7 separate regions of the Homo sapiens genome follow, and all the other regions are linked to region 4. Evidence: promoter capture Hi-C in 16 types of primary human blood cells and fetal thymus (Javierre and others, 2016). All regions are on one chromosome and are shown on one strand. The core of a region is centred on a gene start or on the middle of the fragment in contact, and the rest is flanking DNA. Distances in the headings are between cores, read along the strand shown.

Region 1 (2,700 bases), core at 33-2,532, 840 kb after region 4:
AACTGTCTTTCTTTGGTTTTGTTTGTTTGTTGTTGTTGTTTAAACCACCTTCCTAAACACCATTAGACATTTCTTCCTAATTAACAGGCCAAAAATGTCAACAGGGGCAGCTAGAGTAAAGTGTGGCTCACTTGTCTTCCTCTGTTCATCCTAGAAATGAGGAGAAACTTGCTGATCTTTCTGGGTACTTAGGTGAGACTTTGGTTTCTTTCCCACATATTTTTTTTCTTAACATTTTCTCACATTTTTTTCTATGTATATTCTCATATACCTATGAGAGATGGAAATCTGAACTGGTATTTCTTCTTTCCCCCCTTTTTTTCCCCTTTTTTAAAACTATAAAGTACGATTGCTTGGTGTTCAAACCTTGCCTCTTTGTCTTGACTACTTTCAGAAAATTATTGGATCATAAAGGGATTGCCTTAATCATTTAACACCAACATCAACAAAACCAAACAAACAAAAATAGGCAATTTTTCTTCTCCAAACTTACCAAACTTCTCAGTCTTACCTAAAAGATGGAAGTTGGTACATCTCTCTTAACTCCTTTCCCATTAAACTTGGAGTAGGCTGTTTCTGGCTTATATTCTACGGCCACACTTTGCTTTTCTCCTCCCTGAGTTCTGCCCGTCCTTTAAGGTCTGGGCAAGATTAAATACCATATTTTTAAGAAGTCTTGGCCGGGTGTGGTGGCTCACACCTGTAATCTCAGCACTTTGGGAGGCCAAGGCAGGCGGATCACCTGAGGTCAGGAGTTCGAGACCAGCCTGACCAACATGATGAAACCCCGCCTCTACTAAAAATACAAAAATTAGCTGGACATGGTGGCGTGCACCTCTAGTCCCAACTACTCCGGAGGCTGAGGCAGGAGAATTGCTTGAACCAGGAGGCAGAGGTTGCAGTGAGCCGAGATCATGCCATTGCACTCCGGCCTGGATGACAGAGCGAGATTCCTTCTCAAAAAAAAAAAAAAAGTCTTTGCTGCCGTCTCTCTCCCCGAGTCAGAAGTGACCTCTCCTTTCTTTGAATTCCCATATTCCTGGATGTGTACCTTTGAGTAGCCAGGATCACAACCAGCCTATCATATATAACAGTTATTTCTGTAATCCTTGAATGGTAGATGCCCTAATGGAGTATGGGGAGGAGAGAGGAGATACCAAATTTCATTTGACTCAAGATCTCTCATAGCTCATGAAAATATACATCCTGCTATACAGACTTATGTTTCCAACCGTAGCCACACAACACAGTGTTACAGAAAGCATACGATTGAAGCCATACAGCAAGCATTAGATCTGCCTTAAGAAAATAGTGATTAAGTTTCAGGCAAGCAGGATCTTAAGGAGTATCATCCCAGGGAACAAGGTCTTTCCATCGATAGGGCCTCAGGCCTGGGCCACCTCTGCATCGAAGTTTTCCTTTATTTTACTGGTGAGCTCCTCTGTGGCCCTCAGGCACCTCAGATTGTCCTTGGAACACCCTCCACCTTATAGCAGGGAGTGTCTCATTTTTTGCTAGTGCCACTGTGATCCCTACATGGTCTTCTCTGGAAGTGTGAGGACTCCCCATGCCTTCCCTCCGAATGGTGAAATTAATTGCTGCCACAGAAGGAATCTTTCTTCGCAGCTTTTCCTGGTCGCAGTCCTATTACCACGCCCCACCCACCCGACCCCTAACCACTGCCCAGCCATCAGCCATCTCTGCTATTCTCACTAGGGATCTGCTTTTTCATTCAGGGGACAGGGCATGAGTATTTCACCTTTAGGAGTCTTTCTTCTAGAGGTGCAATTCAAGACTTGTAGTATTGCAGGTGCAGCTGGACTGTAAACCCCATGAATTAAGATAATTAGCTGCTGTTTTATGTATTTCTAGTACCTAAAACTAGAATGTAAATTCTATGAGAACAAATTTTGCGTCTGTATTTAGTGTGCAAATATTTGTAGTGCCTAGAAAAGTGCCTGGCATATAGAATGTGCTCCATAAATAAATGGATGGGCAGATGGATGGATATATGTATGAGTGTTTAGCATGGAATCTTACCCACAATAAGTATTCAGTGATGTTTACTGAATGCATAAGTAAAAAAACATATGGAGTAACAAAGGTGGGAGTAAAGTAGGAAGGCATATATTTTGGTAGTATTTGAGTCCGCTTCTTAGTCTGGGTAACATACCTTAGGGGGATACAGTGGTGTGGCAAGGAGTAGGCAAACTCACAGAATTAAAATATGCATCTTGGTGCATCAATTTTCCACAATGGTAAAATAAGATACTATTTTTTAATGTGGAAGCCAATAGATAAGAGTTTAGAATATATTGCATATTTGACATAATTTTTTAAAGTAAATTACATGTAGAGGGTTATCCTAACCATCTCCTCAAATCCTCTCCTTCGTTCTTAGATACACATTGGAAGAAATATTTGAGAAAACAGATACTGAAGTTTTTATCTTATGTTGGGACTTCTGCAATGTAAAGTAGGTTCTGTCTCCAGTTTTGTGCCAAGGAGAGAATGGTGTCCCTACAGTGACGTAGGGGCTATGGGTGCCCTCCACACAAATATTTCCCTTTATGGAACAGGCAGCATATGCCAGTAATAACTTACTTTGGCACATTAGGCTGTCTTTGTCTATGCGATAAATTCCACAAATATTTATTGAGTACCTACTAGATGAAAGGCACTAACCTGGATGCTAAGATG
Region 2 (2,700 bases), core at 21-2,520, 900 kb after region 4:
ATCAATAAGTACATGAGAAAATAAATCTCTCAGTGCAAATTGTGATATGTGTTATGATGAAAGTGAATAGAATACACGGAGAGCTAGAGAGGTGTGAGGTGACTTCACAGAGAGAATAGTATGTGCAAGGTCACTTGGGTGCAATGGAGCTTGGCATGTTGAGGGTGCTGAGAAGCTGAGTGCGAGCCAGTGTGCCTGGAACATGTTCAGGATGAGGAGCTGGTGTTAAATGAGGCAAGAGAGACCAGCAGGGGCCACGCCATGCTGGGCTTTGTAGGAGTTACGTGGATTTGGATTTTGAATCACTATGCAAAGACCATTATAATTGATTGAAACATTTATGCAAGTTTTGGTCTGAGAGCGTTGAATGAATAGAGACTGTGCACCTGTTAGTCTTCTTAAGGTAAATATTAGAATTCTTAAGTTAGATCCATTTTTGTTCCTGTGGGAACACAATTCTATATGGTCATATGTGATTATGGGAAGATAGATTTTTGATATTCAAATATTCAGGTAACATATCATTTAGTTATATATAGTAAATAAAAAAATGAAGCAAACCCAAGTTGTGTCCAGTTGTAAAGAAGGCAGCATGGCTGTACAACTTCCTGTTCTCCTGTGGAGACAGTAGAGGGGAAATTTTCCATGTGCCTCTGCATTTTCTGCCTGTATTGTGAGCTAGTCCCTAACTGCTCTTTGTTCTGAATACCTTTTCTAGGATGTTTGTATAGGGAGAAGCCTTGAACGGTAGAAATCATGTCCCCTTTGTAGCAAAGGACAGGCTTGCTTATAGCATTGGAAAGTAGAGGTAGTATTTCCCCTCAGAGCAAAGGGCAGATAGGTTTACTACTCACTATAAAAAAATTGGGGCTCCGTAAGCTCAGGGTTTCTCTCCTGAGATGAAGCCCACTGTGTGTGCAAGTATCCATCTGGGCCTACCTACATTATTCCGAGGGGAAGGGGAGCTGACCAAATATACTGATGCTTGTGTCACTTGCTGTGCGGTGAGTAATAAAGTCCTTTTCTCTGACCCAGGAGTCTGTGTCTTCTGTCAGCCTCCATAAAACTGTCAGGGTAACTAGTTAGCTTCTAAGTGAATAAAATCTCAGACCCTTCACAGTTCTTCACAGAGGCTCCTCAGCAGTCCGAGCAGGAAGGTACAATGCCAGGCAGGTGACACCCTAGAGCTTTGCAGCCTCTAAGATGTCCAGTGAGCATTTCTTGTCACTGTGTGAAACCTACATGTGTGAAACCTACTGGCTACTAATTATTATGCCTTGAATATTCTTAACCAAGTGGGAGAATGTTTCAACAACAGAAAGAATACTATGTTACAATTTTAGGATCAGGACATAAAATCTATTAAAATGATACTTTATTTAAATTGAAAATATTGTGTGTGTGTCTGAAAATGTAACCCAAGCATATTTCCATGAAAGATTCTTTTTTTTTTTTTTTTTTTTTTTTTGAGATGGAGTCTTGCTCTGTTGTCCAGGCTGGAGTGCAGTGGCATGGTCTTGGCTCACTGCAACCTCCGCCTCCTGGGTTCAAGCGATTCTCCTGCCCCAGCCTCCCAAGTAGCTGGGATTACAGGCACCTGCCACCATGCCTGGCTACTTTTTTGTATTTTTAGTAGAGACGGGGTTTCACCATGTTGGCCAGACTGGTCTCGAGCTCCTGTCCTCGTGATCTGCCCGCCTCGGCCTCCTAAATGCTGGGATTACAGGCGTGAGCCACTGTGCCCAGCCGAAAGATTATTATGTAATAACTAGTAAGGGACTAACACTGTCCTTTCTCAGGGTTCACAGAACCATTATTGTCACAATGCAGGATCATCATTGGCTTGGGCTCTCACTTTCTCCTGACCAGGGCCTTGAGGAGTAGGCACTGCCACTGCTCCCATAAGAGAATACCAAGTACTGCTCTGGCAGCTGCAGGAGATGTTCTGTATCTTGCCTGTCCAATACAGGGGGCACTAGCCACAAGTGTCCACTGAACGCTTCAAATTTGGCTTGTTTGAATTGAGATATAAGTAGCATGGTGGCTCATGCCTGTAATTCCAGCACTTTTGGAGGCTGAGGCAGGAGGGCTGCTGGAGCCCAGGAGTTTGAGACCGGCCTAGGTAACATAACAAGACCCCCATCTCTACAAAATATAGAAATAAATAAATTTTTAAAATTATACGCTAGAGTTCAGATTTAGGGCAGAAAAAGAACATAAAATGTTTCACTAATAATCCTTAAAATTGAGTATGTTTGAAATGATAGTATTTTAGACAGGTTAAATAAAAATACTGTTAAAATTAGTTTCACCTGTTTATTTTTACTTCTTTTTAATGTGACTAGAAAATTTTAAATTCCATATGTAGCTCTCATTCTATTTCTATTGAACAATGCTGTTCTAGATCCTTGCTACTCAAAGGGCGGTTCTCAGGCAAGCAGCATCACCATCATCATCATCTGGGAGCTGGTTAGGAATGTGGTATCCTACACCCCACTCCAGACCTACTGGGTCAAAATTTGCATTTTAACGGAATCTCATGTGATTTGTATGCACTTTACACTTTGAGTAGCTGAGCTTCCCTAAGACTAGGACTGGCTGGTTTAGCAAACTAAAAATATAAGATGCCCAGTTAAACTTAATTTTCAAATAAACAATTAATACATTTTAAATATAGTATGTCCCAAATATTGCATGGAA
Region 3 (2,700 bases), core at 10-2,509, 860 kb after region 4:
ACTGAATGTGCTTTAACCAAGGCAGTGAGACATGGAGTGAGGGGTGACAGTGGATAATGACCTGCTCCTTCAGCGACACTAGCATCCCTACTCCTCTCCACCTCATTGTATGTCTGAGCCCTCCCCAGTGCCAAGCGCTCTCTGATCTGGGGAGTCTTTTCCTTCACACCCTTAGCTGACTGTTGCTTATGCTGGTGCCCACCTGGAAGTGCTTCCTTCCCCACAGGTCTACCCAATTCCCACCCTGGTGTTGGTGATTCACTGTCACAAAGCCACCTCTGACCACCACAGACCCCAATCAGTGCTCCCTTCATTACTCACCATCCTTAGTCACTATGAGCTTTTAGCTGCCTCTCTTCCGCTCTAATTTCTCCCCAACTTGATAAGTATTAATTAAGTCATTTCAGGTGTTGGCCACTGTCCTTGATTTGCTGTGTTGCAGCATACACAGAAGAATGTCTGTGTGTGCCACCTAAGTAGAAAGGCTCTTGGGTTGGGAATTTGAGAGGTGGGAAAACTCTTTGAGGGACCAGTGGAGGGAGCAGTGAGGGGAGCAGAGGCTGTGTTGCTCAGCAGGTACTAGCCTACGAGCTAGAGGTTAAAAAAACAAAATTCCCCTTCCCCCCAACAAAGGCTTATTAAAATCAAGAGAAAAAAGGCCAGAACTGGGTTTTTGCATGTATTTCTCCTATGATAGGTATAGTGGTTTTTATTCATACTCCCAAAATATTAGGAAATAGAGCTCTGCAATGTCAAAATCAGCTCTTACATAATCCAGAGATATTCCAGTGAGGTTTTTTTAGGGTTAAAATTTAAGAATGAGAATATGAAAATATTCACTTAAGCAGATTTCCTCTTACATACTGAATCCTAGGCCAGGTGCCACAGATAGCAAATGGGGAGACATAAGAATGCCATAGTCCAGTGGAGAGGACACACAAGAGGAAGCTTCAGGAACAGTAGGCTGCATGCTGTGGGCAAGCACATGCCAAGGAAGGCTTTGCAGAAGAGGAATGTGAGTGGAGTCTCGAAAACCTTATGACTTAGCCAGGTCAAGAGTGAAGGAAGAATCTTGAAGGTGCTTGTAGGGAAGTGGTGAAGAATCAAGCTGGCTAGAGCAGGACTGGGGCCAGCTCGGGAAGAGTCTTTACTGTCACACTGAGAATTTGTATTTGGCCCGAAAACCACAGCCACTGCTGGGATTCAAATAGAAAAGTTAAAGTGATCACATTTGCGTTTAAGAAAGAACCTGTATTTTTAAATGGCTGCTGCATATAACTAATCATCCATACACTTTGTCAGGTTTCGTTTTGTTTTGTTTTTACTGCAGTGTCTTAGCCACAGGATTTAGAAGGTTGAGGAGCACAGCAGGGGCTGAGATTGTGCCAAAGACACTTCAGTTTTTACCTAGGGTCTTCCAAAACAAAACCTGCCAGTGTCCTGAAAAGCCTTGAATTCTGACTACTGAGTTACCTGGGGCAAGTCACTGCACCTCTCTGGGCCTCTGTTTTCTGATATATTAACATAAGAAAGTGTATTTGATTGAGTAAAATCAATTTATTGTTTTGTAACAAGCTTTTTTTTTTTTTTTTTTTGAAATAAGGTCTTACTCTGTTGCCTAGGCTGGAGTGCAATGGCTTGATCTTGACTCACTCCAGCCTGACCTCCTGGGCTCAAGGGATCCTCTCATTGCAGTCTCCTGAGTAGCTAGGACTACAGGCGCATGCCACCACGCCTGGTTAATTTTGCTTATTTTTTGTAGAGATGAGGTCTCACTATGTTGCCCAGACTGTACTTGAACCCCTAGGCTCAAGAGATCCTCCTATCTCAGCCTCCCAAAGTACTGGGATTACACAGGTGTGAGCCGCTATGCCCAGCCAGTTTTTTTTTTTTTTTAATGAAATAGAATACATAAAAAAGAAAATATCAAAGTGCACTACACATAGTAAGGGCATTATTGTTTTGTGAAACTTTGGTTTCAACTATATGTTTTATATATATATTTATATATATATATATACACACACATATTTTATATATATACACACACATATATTTTATATATATATGAAATCTGTGTGTGTGTGTGTCCACACACGCACACATGCACGTGTGCACTGGGTTGTAACATAGACTGTATTTCTAGTGCCAGAAAATAGAAATCTGAAAACTGATGGACAAATAAGCTTCCTTCCTATTCTAAGACTTGATTCTCCTTATGCTGCTGACCAGTAAGTTGCTGAAGGCTATTCTATTAATAGAAGGGTATAGGAAGTACTTAACAATTATTGTTTCTGCGGCACTTCATGTGCACAAAGGTGTTTGAAGCTACTCCTCTGGATTTTTACAGGGCTTCTCTATGGAAGCATTTTCACATTTTTATTCCTAAATCTGGTAGTTCTTTACAGTAATCCTGTGATCTCAAGCCCTTGCTTTAACTTTTGTATTGTTAGTAGTGACATCTAGTGGTTCTGTTGCAAGTATCTTGCATTCTAGACCATTGGAGCTGAAAGTGATTTTAGTGACCACCAGGTCTCATTTTGTAAATTATTAAAAATAAACTGAAAACTCACATGTATTCCTACATTCAAATCAACTCTATATAATAATAAATAAAACCTATAGCTGTGTAATGCTTTCTTGGATTACTTTGAAGCTTTTCAAATACCCAGAAGTCACTGTTGGTTATAACCATGAGGC
Region 4 (2,700 bases), core at 32-2,531:
CTCTTCCTGGCCTGTGGATGGCTGTCTTCCTGCTGTGGCCTCACATGGCAGAGAGAAGCTCTCCAGTGTCTCTTCTTATAAGGACATTAATTGTATGGGACCAGGATTCCACTCTTATGACCTCATTAGCCTTAATTCTTCACTCCAAATAGAGTCACACCAGGGGTTAGGACTTCAGTGTATAAATTTCGGTGGGTGGTGTGGGGGATATAATTCAGTCCTTAATAAATGTTTTTGCCATTTTTACTGTCATTCTGTCACAAGAACACAGTGGAGTTTTCCAGAGACTACATAAGGGTGTGGTAGCAGCAGGGTGAATGCAGAAGCAGGTATGAGTAGTCAGCAATCCTCCACTAGCCAGACCTTAGAGAGACTCGCCAGGATGTAACCTTTATCACCACTCCTCTCGCTACACTTTTGTTCTTGTGGAAAATAGTTATTTCTTAATTAAAAATGTTATGCTAACAATGTAGTCCATTTCTTTTTTAAAAATAATTAAAAATTTTAAATTTCCATTACGGTAAATGTGATATAAATAGCCTACATAAACAAAAGCTGCCTGGGTGCGGTGGCTCATGCCTGTAATCCCAACACTTTGGGAGGCTGGGGCCTCCCAACACTTCAGGATCACTTGAGTCCAGGCGTTTGAGACCAGCCTGGGCAACATAGTGAGACCCCATCTCTACAAAAGCAAAACAAAACAAAACTCCCAAAGTCAGCTGGGCCTGGTGGCGTGCGTCTGTGGTCCTAGTTACTCTGGAGGCTGAGGTGGGAGGATCGCTTTAGCTCAGGAGGTCGAGGCTGCAGCGACCTCTGATGGCGCCACCGCTCTCCAGCCCGGGAGAGAGCTCAACAACAACAACAACAAACAAACAAACAAAAAACCCCGCAGAAGCTCTCTGGGCTCCTCACTTGTTTAATGGAATGAAGGAGTCCCGAGAGCCACACATTTGGGAACCACCGGTCTCGGCCATGCCCAGCGCGGGCGCACTGTTGCAACACCCCTATCCCTGGCTGCGCAGGGTTCAGCTCTCCGCAAGTACCTTCCTCGCCTTCCTACCCCCCCCAGCCCCCAGCCGCCGCCGCTCCCGCAGCCCCGGTCCCGCGCCTCCCCGCAGCCCCGGCGCCCGCCTACCCGCCAGGCAGGCGGTGGTGTCGATCCACTTGAGCAGCTGCCCCGCGCTCAGCTCGCCGCGCGCAGTGGCGTGCGCCGGCTGGATGGCTTGGCTCATGACCACCTCGCCGGGCGCCGGCCGCTCCATGGCCAGGGCGAGAGCGCTACGCCTGCGGCCCCCGACACCCCACCATGCCCGCTCCGCCCGCCCCGCCCTCCCCGCCCAGCTCCAGAGGGCACTGGCGCCGCCCGCCCGGGCCGCGAACCCCTGGCCGCCAGGTGGTGGGAGCTGCGAGTGAGGGGGCCCGCACTGTCATCCCAGGACTATCGCGAGTGGGGGAAAACCAGCGCTCTCGGGTCTCAGGAGAAGTCTGGGAAGTGCGCGGGGAGGGGGCTCCCGGGTAGACAGGTCTGGAAGGCGGCTCCCCGAGAGCCGGAGCGCGAGGAACAGCTTTTGAGATAAAAAAGCTGTTACACTTTCTAGAGCTGCTATCAGTGACTGTACAAAGCAGTCCTCATTAGGGAAACAGTGTCTCCAGAAAACCTCCAGCATCTAATGGATTGGTGGATGTCTGACTGTCAGGGGAGGCTGCTCCAGGGAGCACATTTACGATGGAGAACTGGAAACCCGGAGAAGTGGAGCAAGCAGCTGAGGTGATAGGAGCCGATAAGCGACCCGATCACCTGGCTGGAACCCAGGGCTCCTGACTGTCCGGAATAGCACGAAGAAGCCTAGCCGACTCTCACGAATTGGTGGTGCCTTTTCATCCTTATATTTTTGGCTTGCCAAGCCTCAGCATGGCGACATCAGAATGGAGATTCTGGTATTTTTCTTTCCTTTTTAAAAGATTTTTTTTAAAATGAAAGTGAAGAAATAAGGAAATGTTGACTTGATAGCTTTTAGGAGCCTCTGTGTATAGGTTTCAGGACAATCCAATCATAAATAGGAATTGCATGTTTTCACTGAGGCAAGCATGAAGTCTGACTTATATAAAAGGCATTAAAATAACTTTTAAAAGCAAACAAAAACTTGTGCATCCAAGATGGTCCCATTATGTAGCTATACACTTATTTCAATGATAACGTTATTACATCGCTTTTGGCACTCCTCCTTGGAAAATGCCTTTTTAATGACTTCTGTATTGAGAAATCATAATTTAGGAATTGATAGATTATCATATATTCACTCCATCTACCAATAACTCTGTGAGAGTCATTTATTGACCTTGGACTTGGCCATGTGGCTTGCTTAAGAATGGAATGTGGAGAGATAGCAGTGTACCACCAGTCTTGCCTTTAGAAGCACCGTGTTTCTGTTCTCAGGAACATCTGACCTCTGCCATGAGGTCAAGTAGCTGCCTATTAGCATCTGGGTACCAGACTGAATTCACGTATTGCAGAGGCATCTCAGCCAGCCGGAGGACTCACAGCCTGAAGCAGAGCAACCCAGCAGACATGAAGACTCTTGAGTGAGACATAACTACTTATTGTTGTGTGCCACTGTGATTTTGGGGGTTGTCTGTTATGCAGCAATAGCTGACAGTTACATGAGTGAACTGTATTAATATTTGGGAAGTTTATTAAAT
Region 5 (2,700 bases), core at 133-2,632, 800 kb after region 4:
TTATTGACTATATGATTTGCAAATTTTCTCCCATTCCATTGGTTGTCTTTTCCCTCTCTTGATAGCGTTCTTTGGCTCACAAAAGTTTTTTATGTAGGTAAAGTCCAATTTATCTATTTTTTTATTAGATTTATTTCGCCTTAGGTATTATATCTACAAAACTGTTACGTATCCTAAGGGCACAAAGATTAAACCCTATGTGGTCTTCTAAGAGTTTTATGGTTTTAGCTTTTACATTTAGGTCTTTCATCTATTTTAACTTATTTTTGTATGTAGCAATGAGGTAGGGGTGCAAATTCATTCTTTTGCATGTACTAATAAATATCCAGTAGTCTCTGAACCATTATTTGTAAAGACTATTCTTTTCCCACTTAATTATCTTGGCACCCTTGTCAAAAATCAATTTACCATAGATGTATGCATTTATTTCTGGACGCCAAATTCTATTCCACTGTTTCATATGCCTATCCTTTGTCAGCGTCACACTGTCTTGTTTACTGTGGCTTTATAACAGTCATTTTTTGAAATTGGGAAACGTAAGCCCACCAACTTTGTTCTTCTTTTTGAAGATTGTTTTCGCTAGCTTTGGTTCTATGCATTTCCATATGAATCTTAGCATCAGTTTCTCAATTTCTGCGAAAATGTCAGTTGGAATTTTGATATGGATTGCACTGGAGCTATACTTCAATTTGAGGAGAATTGCCATCTTAACAAGATTCTATCTTCCAATTCATCAATACGGAATGTCTTTCCATTTACTTAGCTCCTCTCAATTTCTTTCAACACTGTTGTATAGATTTTCAGGTGACAAGTCTTGAATTTTTTCATTAAATTTATTCCTACATATTTTGTTCTTTTTGATGCTGTTGTGAATGAAATTGTTTTCTTAATTTCATTTTCATATTGTTCTCTGCTAGTGTAGAAATACAACTGATTTTTTGTGTGTATTTTTTTGTATCCTGTAACCTTGCTGAACTCTTTTATTAGGTCTAATAGTTTTTTGTGGATTTATTAAGATTTTCTATATAAAAGATCATGTCATTATGGCATGTCTTGATTTTTGATGACAGAGAGAATACAGGTAATAGCATGTTGTCTGAAAAAGAAATTGTTCAAGAACTAAAATTCTCTAACCCTAACCAGCTTATCTATCTATCTATCTATCTGTCTATCTACCTACCTACCTACCTACCTACCTACCTACCTACCTACCTGCCTATCTACCTATCTGTCTGTCTGTCTGTCTTTCTTGGGAATATGACCTGTGCCTGTGTCCATCCTTTGGTATTTGGATGTGGCATGAATCCTATTTACATTACTTCCCATTGTCCTCTCAGTCGTTTTCTTCCCACCCACCTTCTCCAATGGTTAATTGCATCCTTCTCTGATTATACCTTACCTCTCTGTCCCATTATTTTCTTTCTTTCTTTCTTTCTATCTATCTATCTATCTATCTATCTATCTATCTATCTATCTATCTATCTATCTCTATAGATAAAATGATTTGTTCAACCAAACTAAGTTCTTTTTACTGTATCACATTCAGCAGTTCAGGTGACTTACCTCAGCTGAGTTTCAGTACCCTGAGAACTCTTTTTGCAAAGGACTGGAGTTTAGTAAGAAGTCCATTTCTTGATCTATGATGTTTTCCTCAATTCCTGGCTAATGCCTGGTATTGTGTGCCCTGTTCATGGAAAAATAGAACTCCTCACATACTTTAGAGTGAAATATGAGGGAAATTGAGAAGCATAGGAGGATTGGGCCTGGGGAAGGTTGACTAAGGGGATTTAGCTGGTAATGCAGAGTATTTTCCTTGAGATTTTCATTTAATTCACTTGCTTAATTGTAGGTTTTTGTGGAAATTTACTTTTTAGACATTCTTACTAAATAATATTAGACTACATAAAGAGGGAGTGGTATAAAAAATTTACCTTTGCTCAAGTGAGGTAGAAGGTGAGCAAAAGAAACCAGATTTGCATTTAATAAACAAAATAGAATGCTAAGTCGCCCAGGCTGGAGTACGGTGACAGGATCGTGGCTCACTGAAGCCTCCACTTCCTGGGTTCAACTAATTCTTGTGCCTCCACCACCCAACATGGTAGGTAGTTGGGATTACAGGTGTGCACCACCATGCCTGGCTAATTTTTGTATTTTTAATAGAGAGATGGGGTTTTGCTAGTCAGGCTGGTCTTGAACTCCTGGGCTCAAGTGATCTGCCTGTCCCAGCCTCCCAAAGTGCTGGGATTACAGGTGTGAGGCACCAAGGCAGCCAAGGATGTGCACTATCTACATGTTTTCTGTAGTTTTAGCCTTAACTGTAAACTCAGCCCCCAAAAACAGAGATTTTACAACCTGAATCTATGGTCTAAGAGGTTATTGCTCTCATTTTGCCACATTCTAAGGACAGGCCACTGTTATTATTTTAACAGAAGAAATTCCCGAAAGGGAACAGTACTTGGGATTGGGGGACTTGCCTGAAACTATTTAATTGCTGTTTTGCTTGACTTTTCACATTGACTCTTCTGAAGACCGAGCATCCTGATTTTTGTCAGTGAAGTATTACCTAATGTTTAGTATGATCATTTACCATTAGCTTCCTAGAAGGAGCATGATATACAGTAAACATTTCCAGGTACAACATTCAGCTTTCACACTGATACATTATATAGCTAATTTTCTCCTAGTTTTTCCTGAAAATGT
Region 6 (2,700 bases), core at 28-2,527, 920 kb after region 4:
ATATGTCATCATCTTTCAGAGCAACTTTACAAGTAAATAGAATCCCACAAGGTGACCAAACACACATGTCTGTTTGATCTAGAAATGGAGACTATTTTTGATCTGTAATTCCACTTTTTTCCAAAATGAAAAATAGCTTTATTATTATTATTGTTATTATTATTTATTCTGATGATAAAGGTATGTAGCAGAAACTGTCAGTACCCCGTGAATATCTACATGGTCCTTTCCATTTGAGAGCACTGTAGCCTACCTGCTGAACTTTCAACTCCCCGCCTCTCTTTGCCTAAAAGCTTTCTCTGGCCCACTGCCCCCAGTCCCTGGCCCAGCAGCCTTCAACCAATGACTGGAGGACACATACACACACCTCAGCTCCCTCCCCGTCAGGTGAGATAACTCAGCAGCATGTGCTGTGCTCTGGCTCCCAGGTTCCATCACGGCCATGAAGCCCTGCTTGTCCACATTGGAAACTGGCTTAATAATGTACCTCTTTTAGCTGCCTTCCCTTCCTCTGTCATTTCTTTTCTCTCCATTTTACGTATTTTGAATGACTAAACTCCCCTGAATATTTCTTATATTCACACCTGTGTCTTAGAGACTGCTTGCAAAGAAGCCAAATAGAGACAAGAAAAACTAATGAAAACAGAAAAATCAGAAAATATTGAGCTACAGAAAGAAGAAAATGAAAATCATCAATAATCTAAACACCATTTGTAATCACTACTAATGTTTTAATCTCTATCCTTCCAGACATTTTTTTTTAATGCAGTCACTTTTTTTTTTAAATGGAAATAAAATGATAATGACAAGTAAATTATGACTTTTTTCATGGCTGGAAAACAGTCCATTCCAAAAGAGTTAAGATTGGATTTGAAGCCCAGCTCTGACACTTACTCTCCAAGTGAGCTTATTCAAGCCCTTTGTGTCTTAGATTCCTCAGCTGTGAAGTTAGAATAAGGACATTATCTATTACATGGTGTTGAAGTGAAGATTAAACACAATACACATACATAACACAGAAGTTATTAAGAGAGCTATTACTATTATTTTAAACCACAATTTAGCAAATTCTTCATTGATGTCCATTTAAGTTTTTCTCAAATTTTTTGAATAATAAACACATAATCAAGTGTTGATTCTAAAAAAGGAAAAACAAAACAAAACAAACCCAAACTTTGTGTGTTTTTTCTTTCGTAGGAATTTGCACTGTCCACTTTGGGTGCTGCCCTGTCATTTGCTCTTTTTCCATCCATCCAGGGAAGGCTCTGCAGCAAAAGTGAAGCCTTTCCCCAAGCCCGTTCTGCCGCCTGACAAAAGAGGGCGCCATTGTACTGTTCATAGACGATGCCTTGCGTCAGTAAACGTGGGAAAAGTTCTTTAGGAGTAATGCTGTTTTTATAACCATTTTCAGATTCATCCTTACCAATTACAACAAGTTGTCCATCCAGAGTTGGTTTAGTTTGCGCCGAGTCGAGATCATTTCCAACAATTCAATCCAAGCAGTCTTTAACCCAACTGGCGTATATGCTCCCTCTGGTTACTCCTACCGCTGCCAACGCGTGGGCAGCCTGCAGCAGGACCAGGCCCTCTTGCTGCCCAGCGACACGGATGATGGGTCGAGCCTGTGGGAGGTCACTTTTATTGATTTCCAGGTAATAAACTAAAACCTATGCTCAATGCACCTGCGTTTTTGGTACCAAAAGAGCTCAGTGTTTGTTTAAAAACACCTGAAACAAACCTAGATGCTTAAGGAAAAGAGAAGTAGATGCCTTTAAAAGAATATTGGTGGTTTTTTTCCTTTGTCTTTTAAGGTATGAAGTAGAATAGGATAGAGAATTTTATCTCCCTGTGTCCCCCACCTCCTACCCAGGGCTTGCTTTTACATTCAGCTTTATCCAGCACGAATAATTATCAGTGAGGAATGCCAGCCATCTAAGCCCTAGTGAAGCTGTGGGTGAAGCCAGGGACTGACACTTCCTGGACTGAGAGGCCCTTCTGGGGAGAGGCATTGGCGGACAATTATTTTATTTCCTTCAGGGAGTGGCGCAGTGATCTTATCAGGGAAGATAAGAAGTACATCGGCAGTGTGAGTGACAGCTTTGGCAGTTAGTAGGAAGGGACTCAGCGGGGAGTCAAAAATATCCCAAAGATCTTGAAAGTATTTGGAGTAAGGAATGGGGTGTAAGAGATTCCTTTTCACCACCAGAATCTTAGGCTGAGAGACATTCTGTCAAGTTCCTCTATCCTGTTTACCTGTGAATGAAGCTTAGCTTGTTCCTACCACTCCCTGAAATAGTAGGCAGGGCTTTGCATGTACCTCTTATGGGCACATTCCAACCTTTTCCAAATATATGTGGGCATTGGCATATATGCATATTCTTCCCTTTCATCCTTCCCAAGCTTAGAGAAGTGTCGTGTGGATGAAAGGCAGTTTGGGGTAGGGAAGGAGCTCACATTTTGGAGTCAGACAGACCTGGTTTCAAATTACTGCTCAGCCACCAGGGCAAGTTACTTAACCTCTCTCAATTTCTCACCTATCTTTATTAATGTAAAGAATACGTGGCCTAAGATATGTGGAAACACTCAGGAGTGTGCCAGGCGTGGATTAACAATAATTGCTACCTGTGAGTGACCCGTGTGTGTTGGTACTGTGGTCGTTACTTTATGTGCTTTGTCTTCAGAACTTACCATAATGCTGCA
Region 7 (2,700 bases), core at 194-2,693, 820 kb after region 4:
AATGCCAGCAAAAGAGAGTGTTAGTAAGGTAGACATAACAACCTTTTGTAACCTAGTAATGGAAGTGGCTTCCCATCACTTTAGCCATATTCTATTTGTTAGAAGCAAGACAGTAGATCCAGCCCATACGCAAGGGGACACAAGGGAATTATTGAACCGTTTTAGAAAGCTGCCTACCAGACCTTGAGTTTTTTCAATGGTGATATTCTCAGAAAGAAAAAATTAATTTTTATATATCTTTAAAAAACACTTGAATTAAATGTCATGTTTGTTAAGAAACATCAGCTCATTTTGTCCTGAAACAAAGGCTAACACTGATAAATACAGCACCTGCATTGACCATATTTTAAAAATATTTCCAGGCCAGACACGGTGGCTCACACCTGTAATCCCAGCACTTTGGGAGGTTGAGGCAGGTGGATCACCTGAGGTCGGGAGTTCGAGACCAGCCTGGCCAACATGGTGAAACCCCATTCTCTACTAAAAATACAAAAAATTAGCTGGGCATGGTGGCAGGCGCCTATAATCCCAGCTACTCGGGAGGCTGAGGCAGAATAGCTTGAACCTGGGAGGTGAAGGTTGCAGTGAGCTGAGATCGCCCCACTGCACTCCAGCCTGGGCAACAAGAGCGAAACTCCATCTCAAAAAAAAAAAAAAATCCAATTTGTTACATTGTAATAAATAATGACCTTCTGAGAATTCAAAGACCCAAATACAAGGGAGTGTATTGCAGCAGGCTTAATCAATGTTTAGTGATGATAGAATGTATAATCGAAGAGCCAAGGATAGAAATCAAATTGCCTTTCTGCAGAAAGATCCTCAACAATTGAAAAACTGCTCTATAAAACTAAAGAACAGCTTGATGATTTAGAAAATAGAAACTGCAGAAATATTCTGTAGATCCTAGATATGTCCCCACTGCTTATTACCTTGTCTGCTTCAGAGTAAAAAGGAAGGGCAACAAAAAGAGATTCAACTTAGTGAATTTCGCTCTGGCCTGGAGCCACCCTGGCTTAAGACTATTAGCTAAGTATATCCTGGTCTAAAAATAAATCTTCTACCCTCTTATTTTCAAGTAACTTTCCTTTTTCATACCCAGACCAGAGAAGAGACATATATTATTAACTTACATCCAGACTTTGATAGATTCTTTAATGAATGGATTTTGATGTTCTGATATGGTAAAATTATGCATCACATCCACAATAATAGTATTGTTTTAAAATACCAGAATCAAGTAAGCCACCTGAGCAACTTGTGAGACTTCAAGCATGCTAATTAGGTATGAATAGAATGGGAGATCAATGACAGACTGGCAACACTTCAGCAAAAGCCACTTCTAGATACTTGCCTTATGACCAGGAAATGTCTTACACTAGCAATAGATTATTGTAATATGCCAAACCAATAAAACTCATGCTATTAGGAGTTTCATTAGATTTATTTGAGTCCACAGCTATAAGAATGAAGATGGTAGCAACAGGCCAGGCGCAGTGGCTCATGCCTGTAATCCCAGCACTTTGGGAGGCCGAGGTGGGTGGATCATGAGGTCAGGAGTTCAAGACCAGCCTGGACAATATGGTGAAACCCCATCTCTACTAAAAATACAAAAATCAGCTGGGTGTAGTGGTGCGTGCCTGTAGTCCCAGCTACTTAGGAGGCTGAGGCAGGAGAATCACTTGAACCCGGGAGGTGGAGGTTGCAGTGAGCCGAGATTGCGCTACTGCACTCCAGCCTGGGTGACAGAGTGAGACTCAGTCTCAAAAAAAAAAAATGACGATGGTAGCAACAACTATCTTCTCTTTTTACTTGAAACCTGTTTTATAGAAGCAGAATACTTAACCACTCTGTAAGAATGCTTAGGCCTATAGTAAAATTGGGAAGATCATGAGTTTTGCAATCAAACAGACATCAGTCTCAGCCCAGCCTCTTACTAGCTGTTTGGCCTTGGGTAAGTTACCTAACTCCCTTGGAAATTCAGTGTCCTCCTATATAAAATGGGAGAAATAATGGTGGTGATGGTGATGATGACCACAACGAACATTGTTAAGCATTTGTTATTTACTAAACACTGTGCTATTTATGTGCATTAGTTCATTTACTACTTTTATTACATAGTAATATTACATTTACTATGTGCTTATATATTATATTACCTTATAATTCTTATAAGGTATAAATGCAATCTTATCCCTTATATATCCTGTCATATATATGTGTATGTGTCAGAAGCTATTTTTTGCCACATGAATCTTTTGTGACAAATTGTAGAATATATATGCATATATATACACACACACACCCATATACATACACATATAGGGCATAATATTGATTGGCAGCAGTTTACACAGGCAACATGCTTTACATGCATTGTCTCATTTAATTCTCAAAACAGCTGGCCATGTGTGGTGGCTCACACCTGTACCCAGCACTTTGGGAGGCTGAGGCAGGAAGACTGCTTGAGCCCAGGAATTTGAGGCCAGCCTGGGCAATATAACAAGACCCCCTCTCTACCAAAAAAAAAAAAAAAAATTAACTGGGTGTGGTAGTGTGCACCTGTGGTTCTAGCTACTCGGGAGGCTGAGGTAGGAGGCTCGCTTGACCCCAGGAGGTCAAGGCTGTGGTGAGCTGAGATTGTACCATTGCACTCTAGCCTGGGCAACAGATCCAGACCTTGTCTCTAAATTAAAACAAAAC

The links. Contacts are between HindIII fragments. The CHiCAGO score rates a contact against its expected background, and 5 or more counts as called.
Region 1: a fragment that was not itself captured here is called in contact with the fragment with the promoter of ACOT12 in region 4 in 10 of 17 cell types (monocytes, naive B cells, activated CD4 T cells and 7 more); the score reaches 10.3 in monocytes.
Region 2: a contact is called between a fragment that was not itself captured here and the fragment with the promoter of ACOT12 in region 4, in 1 of 17 cell types (total B cells). The highest score is 5.0, in total B cells.
Region 3: a fragment that was not itself captured here is called in contact with the fragment with the promoter of ACOT12 in region 4 in 5 of 17 cell types (monocytes, erythroblasts, total B cells and 2 more); the score reaches 8.4 in monocytes.
Region 5: a contact is called between a fragment that was not itself captured here and the fragment with the promoter of ACOT12 in region 4, in 2 of 17 cell types (monocytes and non-activated CD4 T cells). The highest score is 6.7, in monocytes.
Region 6: a fragment that was not itself captured here is called in contact with the fragment with the promoter of ACOT12 in region 4 in 1 of 17 cell types (naive B cells); the score reaches 5.5 in naive B cells.
Region 7: a contact is called between a fragment that was not itself captured here and the fragment with the promoter of ACOT12 in region 4, in 15 of 17 cell types (naive CD4 T cells, total CD8 T cells, total B cells and 12 more). The highest score is 10.2, in naive CD4 T cells.

Annotation. Positions count from the first base shown.
Region 1 is chr5:82,236,684-82,239,383 of GRCh38, forward strand. The region is part of intron 5 of ATG10 (autophagy related 10); the gene reads left to right. Among named protein-coding and RNA genes, the nearest start is that of RPS23, 40 kb to the right of the region's middle. The HindIII fragment of the contact is 3,441 bases long and covers 1-2,700 here.
Region 2 is chr5:82,290,934-82,293,633 of GRCh38, forward strand. It overlaps the pseudogene ATP6AP1L. Among named protein-coding and RNA genes, the nearest start is that of RPS23, 14 kb to the left of the region's middle. RefSeq lists an enhancer at 2,566-2,700. The HindIII fragment of the contact is 7,059 bases long and covers 1-2,700 here.
Region 3 is chr5:82,256,910-82,259,609 of GRCh38, forward strand. No RefSeq gene overlaps it. Among named protein-coding and RNA genes, the nearest start is that of RPS23, 20 kb to the right of the region's middle. The HindIII fragment of the contact is 627 bases long and covers 947-1,573 here.
Region 4 is chr5:81,392,853-81,395,552 of GRCh38, forward strand. ACOT12 (acyl-CoA thioesterase 12) reads right to left here and starts at 1,282. Exons shown (of 15, transcript NM_130767.3): 1 at 1,136-1,282. The coding sequence starts at 1,262. The HindIII fragment of the contact is 6,480 bases long and covers 1-2,700 here.
Region 5 is chr5:82,196,288-82,198,987 of GRCh38, forward strand. The region is part of intron 5 of ATG10 (autophagy related 10); the gene reads left to right. Among named protein-coding and RNA genes, the nearest start is that of RPS23, 81 kb to the right of the region's middle. The HindIII fragment of the contact is 7,253 bases long and covers 1-2,700 here.
Region 6 is chr5:82,311,200-82,313,899 of GRCh38, forward strand. It overlaps the pseudogene ATP6AP1L. Among named protein-coding and RNA genes, the nearest start is that of RPS23, 34 kb to the left of the region's middle. The HindIII fragment of the contact is 1,972 bases long and covers 292-2,263 here.
Region 7 is chr5:82,215,293-82,217,992 of GRCh38, forward strand. The region is part of intron 5 of ATG10 (autophagy related 10); the gene reads left to right. Among named protein-coding and RNA genes, the nearest start is that of RPS23, 62 kb to the right of the region's middle. The HindIII fragment of the contact is 4,691 bases long and covers 1-2,700 here.